Linked DNA regions of Homo sapiens: all the other regions are linked to region 4. Evidence: promoter capture Hi-C in human tissues and cell types (Jung and others, 2019). All regions are on one chromosome and are shown on one strand. The core of a region is centred on a gene start or on the middle of the fragment in contact, and the rest is flanking DNA. Distances in the headings are between cores, read along the strand shown.

Region 1 (3,223 bases), core at 518-3,017, 210 kb before region 4:
TAATTTACAAATAGTACAGCAAATACTAGAATGTCATGATTTTAAAGGCAAAAGTACCATTTTTAAAACGAATTTGTTGAATGTGAATTTACCTTCAACATTTTTCCTCTTAACTATTACTTTGGTAGTGGTGAACTGGCTCTGGAAATTGACTTCTTTTTCCTTTTTTTTTTTTTTTTTGAGACAGAGTCTCCCTCTGTCACCCAGGCTGGAGTGCAATGGCGCGATCTCGGCTCACTGCAACCTCCGCCTCCCTAGTTCAAGCGATTCTCCTGCCTTAGCCCCCTGAGTAGCTGGGACTACAGGGGCACGCCATCACGCCCCGCTAATTTTGACCCCTTTTCAATTATAAAATGCTAACGTTGGAAGCCTCTACAGATTACCAAATCCAACTGTTTAAAAATTCTTCTGGCCGAGCATGGTAGTTCACACCTGTAATCCTGGCACTTTGGGAGGCTGAGGAGGGTGGACCACCTGAGGTCAGGAGTTCAAGACCAGCTTGACCAATACGGCGAAACCCCGTCTCTACTAAAAATACAAAAAATTAGCTGGGCATGGTGGCGGGCACCTGTAATAATCCCAGCTACTTGGGAGGCTGAAGCAGAAGAATTGCTTGAACTTGGGAAAGGCGGAGGTTGCAGTGAGCCGAGATCGCGCCATTGCACTCCAGCCTGGCAACAGAGTGAGACTCCATCTCAAAAAAAAAATCTTCTTGGCCTCATAATCCTTTGTTTAGATAAACTTGAAAACCCAATATGTAAACACACAAGCAGAACTGCACTGATTGACAGATACTAAACGGATCTAAATGATACCAAGGATGACAGAAACATCCTCATTTTACAGATGGAGAAACTTGTAGGGTTTGTGCTTTCCTCCCATCAAACCTTACCCTTTATTGTAATTATTCCCGCACTTGCCCGTCTCAGTAGTACAAGCAGTTTGCCAACTACTACTTGCACGAACAACTAGCAGTTTGCCACGGAGTCCTACATTCAGTTTGGGGATTCTCAGGCCTCACAGGGCGCTAAGGCCTTGCCTGGCCCCTTGGTGATCAGAAGCTTCGTGCAGCTCAAGAGCATCCCAAGACGCTTGACGGCTGACTTTCCTTCTCAGAACTTTAGTAACAGGGCGGCCAGTCCAGCCTGGGAACCGCAGGGCCCGAGCCCGACTCTCCCGGAGACCCGGGATCCGCCGCAGAGCAAAGCGCACGGGAGGGAAGGAGGGCACACGGCTCTAGTGTCTGACCTCCTCCGGCTCGCCCTACTGATCTAGGTCCCGCGCCGGGTCCCCACATCCCCGCAACCCGCCGAGAGGCCCGGGAGCCGGGACCGCTCCCACGCTCTGGCCCCCCAAGCCCCGCCCCCCTTACCGGCGTCAGAGCGCGCGGCGGTGAAGGCCGCGGCGGGCCCGCGCGTGAGCCCGGTCGCCGCCCCGAGGAGCAGCCAGGCGGCCGCCCGAACCGCCGCCACCCGAGCCGCCAGGACGCCGGAAGCCGGACGCCCGAGAGGGGCGCGCGGGGCCAGGTGCGGACGCAGGAAGGGGCCTGGCCGCCCGCAGCTCCTACCGCGCGCTGCCCCAGATTTATCGGCTGGGACCGAGTGCTGGGTGCGCGCGCCTAGCGCCCGCGGTTCCCAGCTGCCTGCAGCCCCGGCCCCCAAGGGTTCCCGCGCGGCGTGGGGCGGTCGTCCCCGCCCAGCTGTTCCTTGCTCCGCCCACCCGGGGGCGGGCGAGGAGCTGCGCACGCGCGGGGACGCGCGCCCGGCCTGTCGCTGTGGAAACCGCTAGGCCAGCGCTCGCCGGGACCTGGAATCCCTGTACGCCGAGGTGGGAGCCGGTGGACCGGTCCCCCAGCCGGCCCCCACCTCCGCTTCCCGGTGTTTGAGGGTTCGGGCCTCCCGCCGGGGAGTTCACCCCTCGGGCTCGTCAGTAGGGCTGTGGCTGTCGCCTCTTCCTGCAGCGCCAGGCTCCGCCCGGTCTCACAGTCGGCTTAGGGGCTTTGCGTGCACTGCGGTTGGGTGGAAAAACCCACTCCTGGTTGTTTAGACGTTGGCCTGCAGACGATGTCATTTCTGTATTCCTCTAAGGGTAAGAAAGCCAGCCTTGCACTAGTGGAGACGTGAGTAGGGAGAGAATCGTCTACTCTTTGGGGACATTCGTACCCTTAGGTGCTGTGGGGCTTCCTAACAAGATTGTGGGCAGTTACTGATCTCTGGGGAGAGGAGTATTCGTGTCCAGGAAGAATAATTGGATAAACGTGCCGTCCTTCTTCCTAAACAGAGTGGAATCTGTAAGCAGGCCAAGAGAGCATCCAGGCGGCTTGGAGTGGAATAGAGGGCTCTAGAGCGGGTGTCTCAAAGAGGAAACAGAGTGTATGTCAAAACATACTATCCAAAACTGAAAATAGCCGGGCAGGTGGCTCACGCCTATAGCCCCAGCACTTTGGGCGAATCACCTGAGGTCAGGAGTTCGAGACCAGCCTGGCCAAGATGGCGAAACCCCGTCTCTACTGAAAATACAAAGATTAGCTGGGCATGGTGGTAGGCACCTGTAATTCCAGCTACTCGGGAGGCTGAGGCACGAGAATCGCTTGAACCCAGGAGGCGGAGGTTGCAGCGAGGGGAGATCACGCCACTGCACTGCAGCCTAGGCGACAGAGGGAGACTCTGTTTCAAAAGAAAAAAAAAAACTGAAAATGGTAGTATAAGCATGTTTCTTAAGAAATGGAGAGAGAAATTTTGGAAGATATGCCTTTTAAAATTCAGTCTGGCTCCCTATGAAGAGGAGTAGGGCCAAGGACGATAGTTTGTTGTTATAAGCCTCATAGAATTATTTTATATTCCAAATACAAACATTACTTTAGCAAAAATTAAAGTTAAATTTTAAAAAGAGTCTAGTAAAAAAAAAACTACATTATTTGAGTACCAACTGCATACATCTTTGACGAGTACAGCCATTGCTTCAGTGTGTGGAGTTTATATGTGCCCCGTAGGTTGTAGTTTACTAACATCAAATTTTAGTTAGGTGAATTGGGAATAGTATTCGTTAAAAAAAAAAAAAAAGCAAGAAAAGAGAAGGAAAAGAAGGAGAAATGGTGTGAGCTCATTGCATCAGATTAGAGGTAGAGCACAGTAATTTTTTAAAGTAGTTTTTTTTTTTTTTTTTTTTTTTTTTAAGAATAGGCGTATCATGCTTTGGAGAGGCTGTTGTGCAGTGGCACCAT
Region 2 (3,387 bases), core at 771-3,270, 190 kb before region 4:
GCGATTCTCCTGCCTCAGCCTCCTGAGTAGTTGGGATTAGAGGAGTGTCAGGCTGGGCTTGAACTCCTGACCACAAGTGAACCGCCCGCCTCGGCCTCCCAGAGTGTTGGGATTACAGGCGTGAGCCACCACGCCTGGCTGCAATTTTTTCTTGTAATTTAAACGTGACTACCTCCACATCTAGAGTGAGCCTTGCTCAGAATTTACACTGTTTTTAAATCATCTTTTAAAAACGCTAGGTTGTCTGTGCCATACATAGACCCATTCTTTAATTATTGATCGAATATGTCTGAAGCACTTCACAGGTGCCAAGCACTGTTCTGGGTAACAGGTATACAGAGAGGAAAAGCCAGGACTTTTCTTTCGTGGAGCTCACATTTCTGTCGGGGAGCAACAGTCAACAAGAAAACGTGTCTTTTTCCAACAAGAAACTATAGGCAAAAAAAAAGAAAAAGAAAAATATCACACGGTCATAAATGCTGTGTAGATAGAGTAGACTGTGTGGGGTTCCTCCTTCACTCAATCCATTCCCTCCCGCAAAACCAAAAAAGGAAGTCAAGGCCGGGCGTGGTGGCTCACGCCTGTAATTCCAGCACTTTGGGAGGCCGAGGCCAGCGGCTCACGAGGTCAGGAGATGGAGACCATCCTGGCTAACACGGTGAAACCCCGTCTCTACTAAAAATACAAAAAATTAACTGGGCATGGTGGAAGTCAAGGAAGAAAAAATATTTCATCCTGATAAAGCCACTGTATCCAAATATCAGGGTCTTACATCCAAGACAACTGCATGAGCAAGCACATTTTATAGCATTATATGCTCAATAAGCTTTATTTTTAAAATCCAGCTTTAACTGTTTTTCATTTTCTTGGTCCATTCCTATGCCTGGCCCCACTTTCTTCAAAAGGTGGATGAGGTGTCACCCTAGGGAGAAGGAACCAGGAGTGAGTTTTTCTTCTGCTCTCGCTCCCGTGGTTCAAGCCTTTCATCCGGTGCTGAGCCTAACTCTTCCCTTAGGACTGCTGGGTGGGGCTTAAATGGCTGTGTGTGTAGAACATCTCCCTGCTCAGTCATCAGCCGAAAAGACCCTCAGAAATCAGGATACATTCATCTTTGTTCCTTTCCCCAGTTTTCTCATTTGTAAAATGGGACGTTAATACCTGTTTCCACTGGGCCAGCGTAAGGAGGAAGTTAGATACCATATGCATAGTACAGCATCTGTCATGGAGTAAGTGTTCAATATGTGAAAGTTTTTTTAAAAAGTCTTTTGCCAGCCGGGCGTGGTGGCTCATGCCTATAATCCCAGCACTATGGGAGGCCGAGGTGGGTGGATCACTAGGTCAGGAGATGGAGACCATCCTGGCCAACATGGTGGAACCCCGTCTCTACTAAAAATACAAAATTAGCCAGGCGTGGTGGTGCACGCCTGCAATCCTGGATACTCGGGAGGCTGAGGCAGGAGAATTGCTTGAACCCAGGAGGCGGAGGTTGCAGTGAGCTGAGACTGCACCACTGCACTCCAGCCTGGGCAACAAGAGCAAAACTCCATCTCAAAAAAAAAAAAAGAAAAGGAAAAGATCTGTATTTTATAATATTTTGAGTGACTGGACTAACACCTACAGGACAAGATATTATGGAGACACAAGTAAAGTCCATGACTTGCATTAAGAAATGCCAACTGCAAGAGCACAGGACAGGAAACAGTTAACCTAAAAACAACGTGAAACAGACAGAGGGCATCCAATTGGCAGCAGTCGCAGTATGAACACTCTGTGGACTGGCTGCCCAGAAAGCTAATGTAAGCCTACGCTACATTAATTGAGGGTTAGTGCTCAGATGGGGGAAAGGTCCTGATCAGATCCTGTCTGGAGCCATGTTTTCTTCCAGGAGCCTCATTTTAAAAGATGTTGACAAACTGGAGTGTGTCCCACAGAGAGTGACCATGTCACATGAGAATCCTTTGCAAGAAGTGATGAGATTTTTGCCTGGAAAAGGCAAAAGTTAAAAGATTGCTCTTAAAGCTCTTTAGTTCTTTACAGATCTTTCACGTAGAAGAATATATTACTACTTCTAGAGGGAAAAACTAGGCACAGTGATTGGAAATTTAGGGAGCAGCTCTCACCTCAAGAAAAGACAGAACTTTCTGGCCAGGCGCGGTGGCTCACGCCTGTAATCTCAGCACTTTGGGAGGCCAAGGAGGGTGGATCACTTGAGGTCAGGAGTTCGAGACTAGCCTGGCCAACATGGTGAAACCCCGTCTCTACTAAAAATCCAAAAATTAGCTGGGCGTGGTTGTGTGCACCTGTAATTCCAGTTACTCGGGAGGCTGAGGCAGGAGAATCACTTGAACCCAGGAGACAGAGGTTGCAGCAAGCCCAGATCACGCCATTGCACACTCTAGCCTGGGGGAAAAGCATAAAACTCCGCCTCAGAAAAAAAAAAAAAAAGAAGAAGAAGAAAAAAGAAAAGACAGAACTCTCTGAAGATCAAAACCGCCAGCAACGGGAAGGGTGACTTTGTGAAGCAGTGACCCCGCTGTCCCTACAGCAGCCCAGCAAGGCACCAGAGAGGTTAACCATTGGCGTTTTTCAAGCTGCCTTCTGTGGAGCAGCATCCTGGGGAGCTAGGGTTGGGGTCGGGTGTAAAAGTGGTCATTGTTCTGAGTGATAAAAAGAATAAGGAGGTGGGAACTGGACTCCTAATTTATCCACAGCAGCTCAATTCTTACATGTTGAAGTTTTTCCCATTTCAGAGTTCTACTTGAGATCTTCATTAAGGGTTCTGCTATGAAAATCAAACCTGCAAACCACCAGAGATGATGGCTTTCTTCGCTATCTCTTTTCTTTTTTGAGATGGAGTCTCGCTCTGTCACCCAGGCTGGAGTGCAATGGCGTGATCTTGGCTTACTGCATCCTCTGCCTCCCGGGTTCAAGCGATTCTCCTGCCTCAGCCTCCCGAGTAGCTGGGATTACAGGTGTGCGCCACCAAGTCTGGCTAATTTTTGTATTTTTAGAAGAGACAGAGTCTCACCACCTTGGCCAGGCTGGTCTTGAACTCCTGACCTCAGGTGATCTGCCCACCTCGGCCTCCCGAAGTGCTGGGATTACAGGTGTGAGCCACCGTGCCCGGCCTCTCCACCGTCTCTGGTGGACACAACACCCCGTCTCTTAGGTGCCTGATTCTCAGACAGGACTCAGGAGCAGAGACCAGATAAATCTCAGATTTGTCTGAGCTTATTTACTTCTGGAGTTTTCTAAATAGCTCTCTCTCTTCCCTGGGGTGGGTTGCTTTTTTTTTTTTTAAGGCAGTTTTTTCAATCTTTTGGGTAGTAGCTCTTGAGTCTGTAAAGCCTGGTAATTTTCTAGAGGTAATTGGCATTAACCATCAAG
Region 3 (3,050 bases), core at 483-2,982, 150 kb before region 4:
TTCCGGGAGGATGCCCTAGGCTGGTCTCGGATGCCTCCTATCCTCAGCAGGCGTGAGAACGGCGGGGCAGGGACTGCCTGGCTCTTCCCAGGAAGCATCTTAAAATCCTGTGGTTAAAGGGCAGCTGCACATGCCCCTGTGCTAGGCAGGCACAGAGTGATGCAGGCTCCTTCATTCTCTGCCCTTCCTGATGGACAATCTGTCAGCTTTCCAAATGGACCAAGCCTTGTCAGGACAGGAGCAGCCGACAGATCAGGGTTCAAGGGAAACTCACCAACTTGCAGACTCCTTGGGAGGCTGCTGTGGCTGTTCCGCTTCTGTTCCTCCAGCCCACGGTCAGGAAGTGAAAACCCAGGCAGAGCCAAAGAGGCAGCAACTCCATCTCAAGGGCAGCCCTGTGGACAGAGAGCAGGGAAGAGGTAAGTCAGAGAAGGACATCCCAGAGGGCTGTTTGTATTATCGGCAGAAGGAGCCAGTTCCAATTCTATGTGGTCTTGGAGCTCTGTGGAGCTCCATAGAGGTGCAGCCCACAGGATACTCAGATACCTCCATTTAGCCAAGACTTCCGGCCTTTCACTGAAACTGTTGACAAGAACTCAATTTCATTTTGCCTCTACCACTTGATGGACGGGTGGCTGAACACTAAACTTCAGCGAGTCCAGCACAGAAGGGAGAAGCAAAAAGCTTGAGTAACCAGGCCTCCAGTCACCTGGAGTTTCCCATATTTTGTAATTCTGCTGAAGTTTTCCTGCCTCCAGCTCCAATCGGTCTGATGCATCCCCTGAGCTCAGTAAGTACTTGCTGAGTGAATGAATGAACAACTGGAGAGTGGACGGAGACGGAAACACGGATGGGGGCCTCTGTCCCAGAGTTACTCCTCAGCTGCTGATGTGGGGCTGTTACAAAAGCGTTGATCTCTTTGGTTCACTCATTTGACTATGACCCTTTGAAAAAAGAGGTTTGATATTTTGCTTGGACGGGGGAAACACGGAGGGAAAATGAAGAAGCAATCTTTGGGTAGAATAAAGGTGGTTAACGAAACGTGGTTGCCAGCCCGCTTGCCTGGCCAGTGCACAGAGAACAGCAATAATGAGAAGGCTTGAAGGTATACACGCACCAGCAGAGATTCAGAACTAAGGGGAGCCATAAGGGAAATGCAATATACTCATCACATTTGCCAGGTGAACAAAGGCCCAGAGATACTACTCGAGGTTGTGGATGAACTTAGTGGCAGGGCTAAGAGCAGCCCCGCCTCGCTCCCCGAGCTCCGATGAGTGAGCAGGGCAGTTTCTCCCAGCAGCGAGGCTGCACTCACTGCTGCCCTGCTGGGGACCTGACGCCCAGTGCATGCCCCCAGCTCTGCATTCTGCAGACCCAGAGGCAAGAGCTGGCCCCAGCATTCCATCTGCCCATTCCTTGACACCTACCGGAGGCCCAGTGTCTGCCCTCCCATCTTCTCCTGGGCCAGCGGCACCAGCTCACCCCACCTGCTCGCTCCAGCCACTCAGGGGCCTCCTCTTTCCTTTCTTCAAATGCATTTAGGGATCTTGAAAGCTCATTTTACCTTCTTGATCAGATTTGAATGCTCACCAGTGCAAACAGACTAATTGAAGAGCTCAATGAAACCGGGTAAGCCAGCTTTCACTTCAGGCCAGGCCAACTCCCCTTACTACAGAGAGAACCTCCAATGCAGAATTTACCAGAACTTGCCAGACACTGGGAATCCCCTTCCAGACCCATTTCTGCCTCTGCACCCACACAGGAGTCATTGCCTTGTGGCCGGCACAGGGAAGAGAGGGCAGAAGCAGAGGTGTACGGGTTCCTGACCTCAGGATCCCCCCAGCACCCTTCCCCGCCCCTGAAACCTGGGATCACCACCACTGCCCGCCATGAAATAAGGCTGCATAGTTGCAGATTTAGTAAATTACAAGGCATCATTTCAATGCTAGATACATCCTTATACTAACAAATTGTTTATCTGACATTCAAACTTCACTGGGCATCCTGAATTTTACTGAGGGGAGATGGGGAGGTAAGAACCCTCCCTTCCTCCCTGGCCACCTCTTGTCAGGTGTGGGGTGGTACCTGCTGCTGTGACTCCAGTCTCTCTGGAAGAGCCAGCCCTGCGTATCGAAGAACTGAATCTAGACGTGTAAGGGGCAAGAGTGCAGGTCCCTCAGCGAAAAGGCAACCTTCAGACTGGAAGGCAAGCCAGGCCTTGTGTCACACTCAGGAGGGGCATTTTAATTTATGGGTCATCAAGAATTTTGCAAGTTTAAAACATATCCTCTCCTTCCTCCTAAACTCAGCCAACCAGCCCAGAAAAAAACTCTTGTTGTGGCCCTGGCAGGAAGCAGCAGGATATCATGGGAAGATCATGGAATTTGGAACCAAGCAGACCAGAGTTTGAATTCTGCCTCTGTTATTTGTTATTTGTCCTTTAGGAATTCAGACAAAGTCTCCAAGACTCAGAGAATCCGTCTACAAAATGGGAGTAATAATAACTATTCCAGAGTTGCATGAGAATAACCAGTCTCATGAATGTGAAAGGGCTTCATGGCTGTAAAGGTAGCAAGTAACACAATTATTAATTATTACTTGTGAGTTCCAAACACCAGTGAGTTGACTGAGTGCTGGTTATTCCTGTGTAATCTCCAAGGTAGTTCAACAGCTACACAAAGTCTAAAATAAAGGCCTGAGTAATGTGGCTGGAAGGATGAATTATACCAACTAGATATGTAAAACATATGCAGGAAGGTTCAATTAAAAACTCTGCATTCATAAATTGCAGAGCAAGGCTAGCCCTGAGCACAGATGACTATGCTGGCTGACAGCGGTTTGTCCCCAGAGCTGCGCCTTCCCCTTCCCTGCCCTCCTCAGTGTGGCAGGGCTCTGACTTCTGAAGGTTCTGAATCTCAAACTCTGCTGTCACCTGGCCTCAAACTGCTGTCACCTGTCACAAACTCTGCTGGTTTAGTCAATGGAAGACACTCCTCCTGGGAGGTCAGACAGTAGAGGGCAGAAAGAATCCAGCATACTTCTCTCCCTTC
Region 4 (3,313 bases), core at 403-2,902:
CGATGGGAAAAGCAGGTTGTGGACATATTAGGAAGCCTGAAGGCCAGGTGCAGTGGCTCACGCCTGTAATCCCAGCACTTTGGAAGGCCAAGGCCGGTGGATCACCTGAGGTCAGGAGTTCGAGACCAGCATGGCCAACATGGTGAAACCCCATCTCTACTAAGAATACAAAAATTTGCCAGGCGTGGTATTACAATGCACGTGGTATTACAAGGCACGCGCCTGTAATTGCAGCTACTCGGGAGGCTGAGGCATGAGAATCGCTTGAACCCAGGAGGTGGAGGTTGCAGTAAGCTGAGATCAAACCACTGCACTCCAACCTGGGCAACAGAATGAGGAGCCATCTCAAAAAAACAAACAAACGAACAAAAAACAAGCCTGAAATTCCAAGCTAAGGTACTGTTACTGTAGACAACCAGATGACAGTCCCAGGTTTCTTTTTTTTTTCTTTTTTTTGAGACAGGGTCTTGCCCTGTCACCCAGGCTGGGGTGCAGTGGTACGATCACTGTTCACTGCAGCCTTGACCTCCTGGGCTCAAGTGATCCTCCCACCTCAGCCACCAGAGTAGCTGAGAGTATAAGTGTGAGCCAGCACACCGAGTTAATTTTTTTATTTTTTGTAGAGACAGGGTCTCACTATGTTGCCCAGGCTGGACCTGAACTCCTGGGCTCCACTGATCTTCCCGCCTTGGCCTTCCAAAGTGCTGGGACTACAGGTGTGAGCTATCACAGACAATAACAGGTTTCTGAACCCACATTGAAATGAAAGTTCCCAAAGACTTCTACCAACGACCGATGTCTCCTCGTTGTTCTCAACCTGGAAACCATCCCCTACCCAGCCTGAATGCTCTCAGCAGCCTCAAAACAACTTAAAGGCTGCTTTCACGCACAGTGATTTTCTTTTCTCTTCCTTCACACTGATTGATTCCCTCAAAAAATGCAGGTCCGGAGCTGGCTATGGAGTTGCAAGCTCTAGACCCAGCTACTCCAGAGGCTGAGGCGAAAGAATCCCTGGAACCCTGGAGTTGTAGTCCAGCCTGGATAAAACAGTGAGACCCCAATTCTTTTATCTATTTATTTATTTGTATTTTTTGAGGTGGAATTTTGCTCTGTCCCCCAGGCTGGAGTGCAGTGGCACAATCTCGGCTCACTGCAGCCTCTGCCTCCCAGGTTTAGCGATTCTCCTGTCTCAGCCTCCTGAGTAGCTGGAATTGCAGGAGCTTGTCACAATGCCCAGCTAATTTTTGTATTTTTAGTAAGGACGGGGGTTTCACCATGTTGGCCAGGCTGGTCTTGAACTCCTGACCTCAGGTGATCCGCCCGCCTCGGCCTCCCGAAGTGCTGGGATTACAGGCGTGAGCCACCGCACCCGGCCTTGTTTGGCTGTTGATTTTGTTTTGAGGTTTCCCTTTTTCTACCCAGAAACCAAGAAACCAGGGGTGTCTGAGGCCTCGCAGAAATCTCAGGGAAAGGTCAGGCTCCACCCAGGCTGCACTAGGCGGGGCTGCGACGCCAGGGCGGGACCGTCTCCGGCTGGGAGGGAGGGCGGGCGGCGCGCAGACCCCGGAAGTCCCGCCCCGGGAACGTTCGCCCTTGGGCAGTTTTCTGGGTGGGAAGTGCGATTTTGGCGGGCGGTTGTGACGTTGCTAGCGCTTGTCCGGTGGCTGCTGCGCTGCCGCAACGAATAGGGTTTCTGGCTGCGTAGGAGGGACGGGGGCGCGGAGCTCTGGGAAACTGCGCCAGGCGCCCGAAAGGTGAACACGGGAGTCGCGCGTCTCCCCCGCAGCAGCGGTAAAGCGGAAGTTATGCTGCAGCCGGAGCCCGGGCTTCCTCCCGGAGCCGCGTCCCGGGGCCCGGCTGCCCCGAGCTGAGCGGAGCATCCTTTCCGGGTGAGGGGAGGAGAGGACTTGGCGCGTTCCCCTCGCTGCCCCGGGAGCCGCAGCCGCGGTGTTCATGCCGCGGAGCAGCCAGGCTCCTCCGACGAAAACCTGCATTTATTTGCTGGCGGGACGTTTGCCTTGAAAATGGACAAAGACGCCGCCCTCCGGGGTATTCCTGTTTGCCTGACCCTGAGAGCGCCTTTTTGCTTCAAGACGTGTTGGATGCTCCTGTTCTCCGAATTCTGATACGCTTCTGGGCATAATACTGAAACACAAAACTGCTTTTGCTCTCTCTGTGGTTGGCCGAAAATAGGATTCTTTTTCGTGCAGGTGTCGTTGTTTAGTCGGCTTTACTAACATATTGAAATGGCTCTACCCAAAGACGCCATCCCCTCGCTGTCCGAGTGCCAGTGCGGGATCTGCATGGAAATCCTCGTGGAGCCCGTCACCCTCCCGTGTAACCACACGCTGTGTAAACCGTGCTTCCAGTCGACCGTCGAAAAGGCGAGTTTATGCTGTCCCTTCTGTCGCCGCCGGGTATCGTCGTGGACTCGGTACCATACCCGAAGAAATTCTCTCGTCAACGTGGAACTGTGGACGATAATTCAAAAACACTATCCCAGGGAGTGCAAGCTTAGAGCGTCTGGCCAAGAATCAGAGGAAGTGGGTGAGTAAACCATGGCGTGTTTGTTGGCCAAAAGCCGCAAGTCTTTGAAAAGGTGAATCATCACTTTTCCATTTAAAAAGTAAAAACAAACCAAAAAACCCGACTAGTATTTGTCTAAATAGTTCTCAGAGGTTAGGGGGTTTATGGGTCCCCAAATGTCGATGGATTATAAAGTCAAGGGCAAGATTTTGTCCATTGTCAAAATGCCCGCGCTGTGTTCGATGGGTGTTTGTTGTGTTAAAAATTAAAGAATTGCCCGTCTGGAGCCTTCTTTTTTTTTTTTTTGAGACAGGATCTCGCTCCGTCCTCCAGGCTGGAGTGCAGTGGCGCGATCTCGGCTCCCTGCAACCTCCGCCTCCCGGTTTCAAGCGATTCTCCTGCCTCAGCCTCCCGAGTAGCTGGGGTTACACGCGTGCACCATCACGCCCGGGGAATTTTTCTGTTTTTTAGTAGAGACGGGATTTCACCATGTTGGCCAGGCTGATCTCAAACTCCTGACCTCAAGGGATCCGCCCGCCTCGGCCTGCCAAAATGCTGGGATTACAGGCTTGAGCCACCGCGCCCGGCCTCTGATTTACTTATCTATACATCTCCATTCATTTAATTCTTGATTCTCCTAATCATGCGACGAGGCTAAAGTCGCTTTTTTATCACTCAACCCTGCACCCGGTAGACTCAGGAGCCCCAAACTGAACCCTTGACTCTTTCCTCCACTAATGTGAGCAATAAGCCGGGCGGTGGTTCCTGTCTGGGCTTAGGATATGGT

The links. The method cuts DNA at HindIII sites, captures the fragments that hold promoters and counts their contacts. A contact is called where the count stands out against the background at its distance.
Region 1: a contact is called between the fragment with the promoter of CEP19 here and the fragment with the promoter of RNF168 in region 4, in 1 of the 25 tissues and cell types used here (ovary).
Region 2: a fragment that was not itself captured here is called in contact with the fragment with the promoter of RNF168 in region 4 in 6 of the 25 tissues and cell types used here (IMR-90 fibroblasts, aorta, dorsolateral prefrontal cortex and 3 more).
Region 3: a fragment that was not itself captured here is called in contact with the fragment with the promoter of RNF168 in region 4 in 1 of the 25 tissues and cell types used here (mesenchymal stem cells).

Annotation. Positions count from the first base shown.
Region 1 is chr3:196,710,794-196,714,016 of GRCh38, reverse strand. It overlaps CEP19 (centrosomal protein 19), which reads left to right and starts at 1,767. Exons shown (of 3, transcript NM_032898.5): 1 at 1,767-2,088. It overlaps PIGX (phosphatidylinositol glycan anchor biosynthesis class X), which reads right to left and starts at 1,640. Exons shown (of 6, transcript NM_017861.4): 1 at 1,373-1,640. The coding sequence starts at 1,484. RefSeq lists silencers at 1,241-1,870, 1,705-2,017. The HindIII fragment of the contact is 13,108 bases long and covers 1-3,223 here.
Region 2 is chr3:196,690,686-196,694,072 of GRCh38, reverse strand. No RefSeq gene overlaps it. Among named protein-coding and RNA genes, the nearest start is that of CEP19, 20 kb to the left of the region's middle. The HindIII fragment of the contact is 6,798 bases long and covers 1-3,387 here.
Region 3 is chr3:196,651,872-196,654,921 of GRCh38, reverse strand. It overlaps NRROS (negative regulator of reactive oxygen species), which reads right to left. Exons shown (of 3, transcript NM_198565.3): 2 at 275-395. The coding sequence starts at 382. Among named protein-coding and RNA genes, the nearest start is that of NRROS, 14 kb to the right of the region's middle. The HindIII fragment of the contact is 5,100 bases long and covers 1-3,050 here.
Region 4 is chr3:196,502,107-196,505,419 of GRCh38, reverse strand. RNF168 (ring finger protein 168) reads left to right here and starts at 1,652. Exons shown (of 6, transcript NM_152617.4): 1 at 1,652-2,547. The coding sequence starts at 2,247. LOC105374307 (a long non-coding RNA gene) reads right to left here and starts at 68. Exons shown (of 3, transcript XR_924897.3): 1 at 1-68. RefSeq lists a silencer at 1,403-1,702 and enhancers at 2,323-2,412, 2,453-2,522, 2,174-2,857, 2,858-3,313. The HindIII fragment of the contact is 9,103 bases long and covers 1-2,995 here.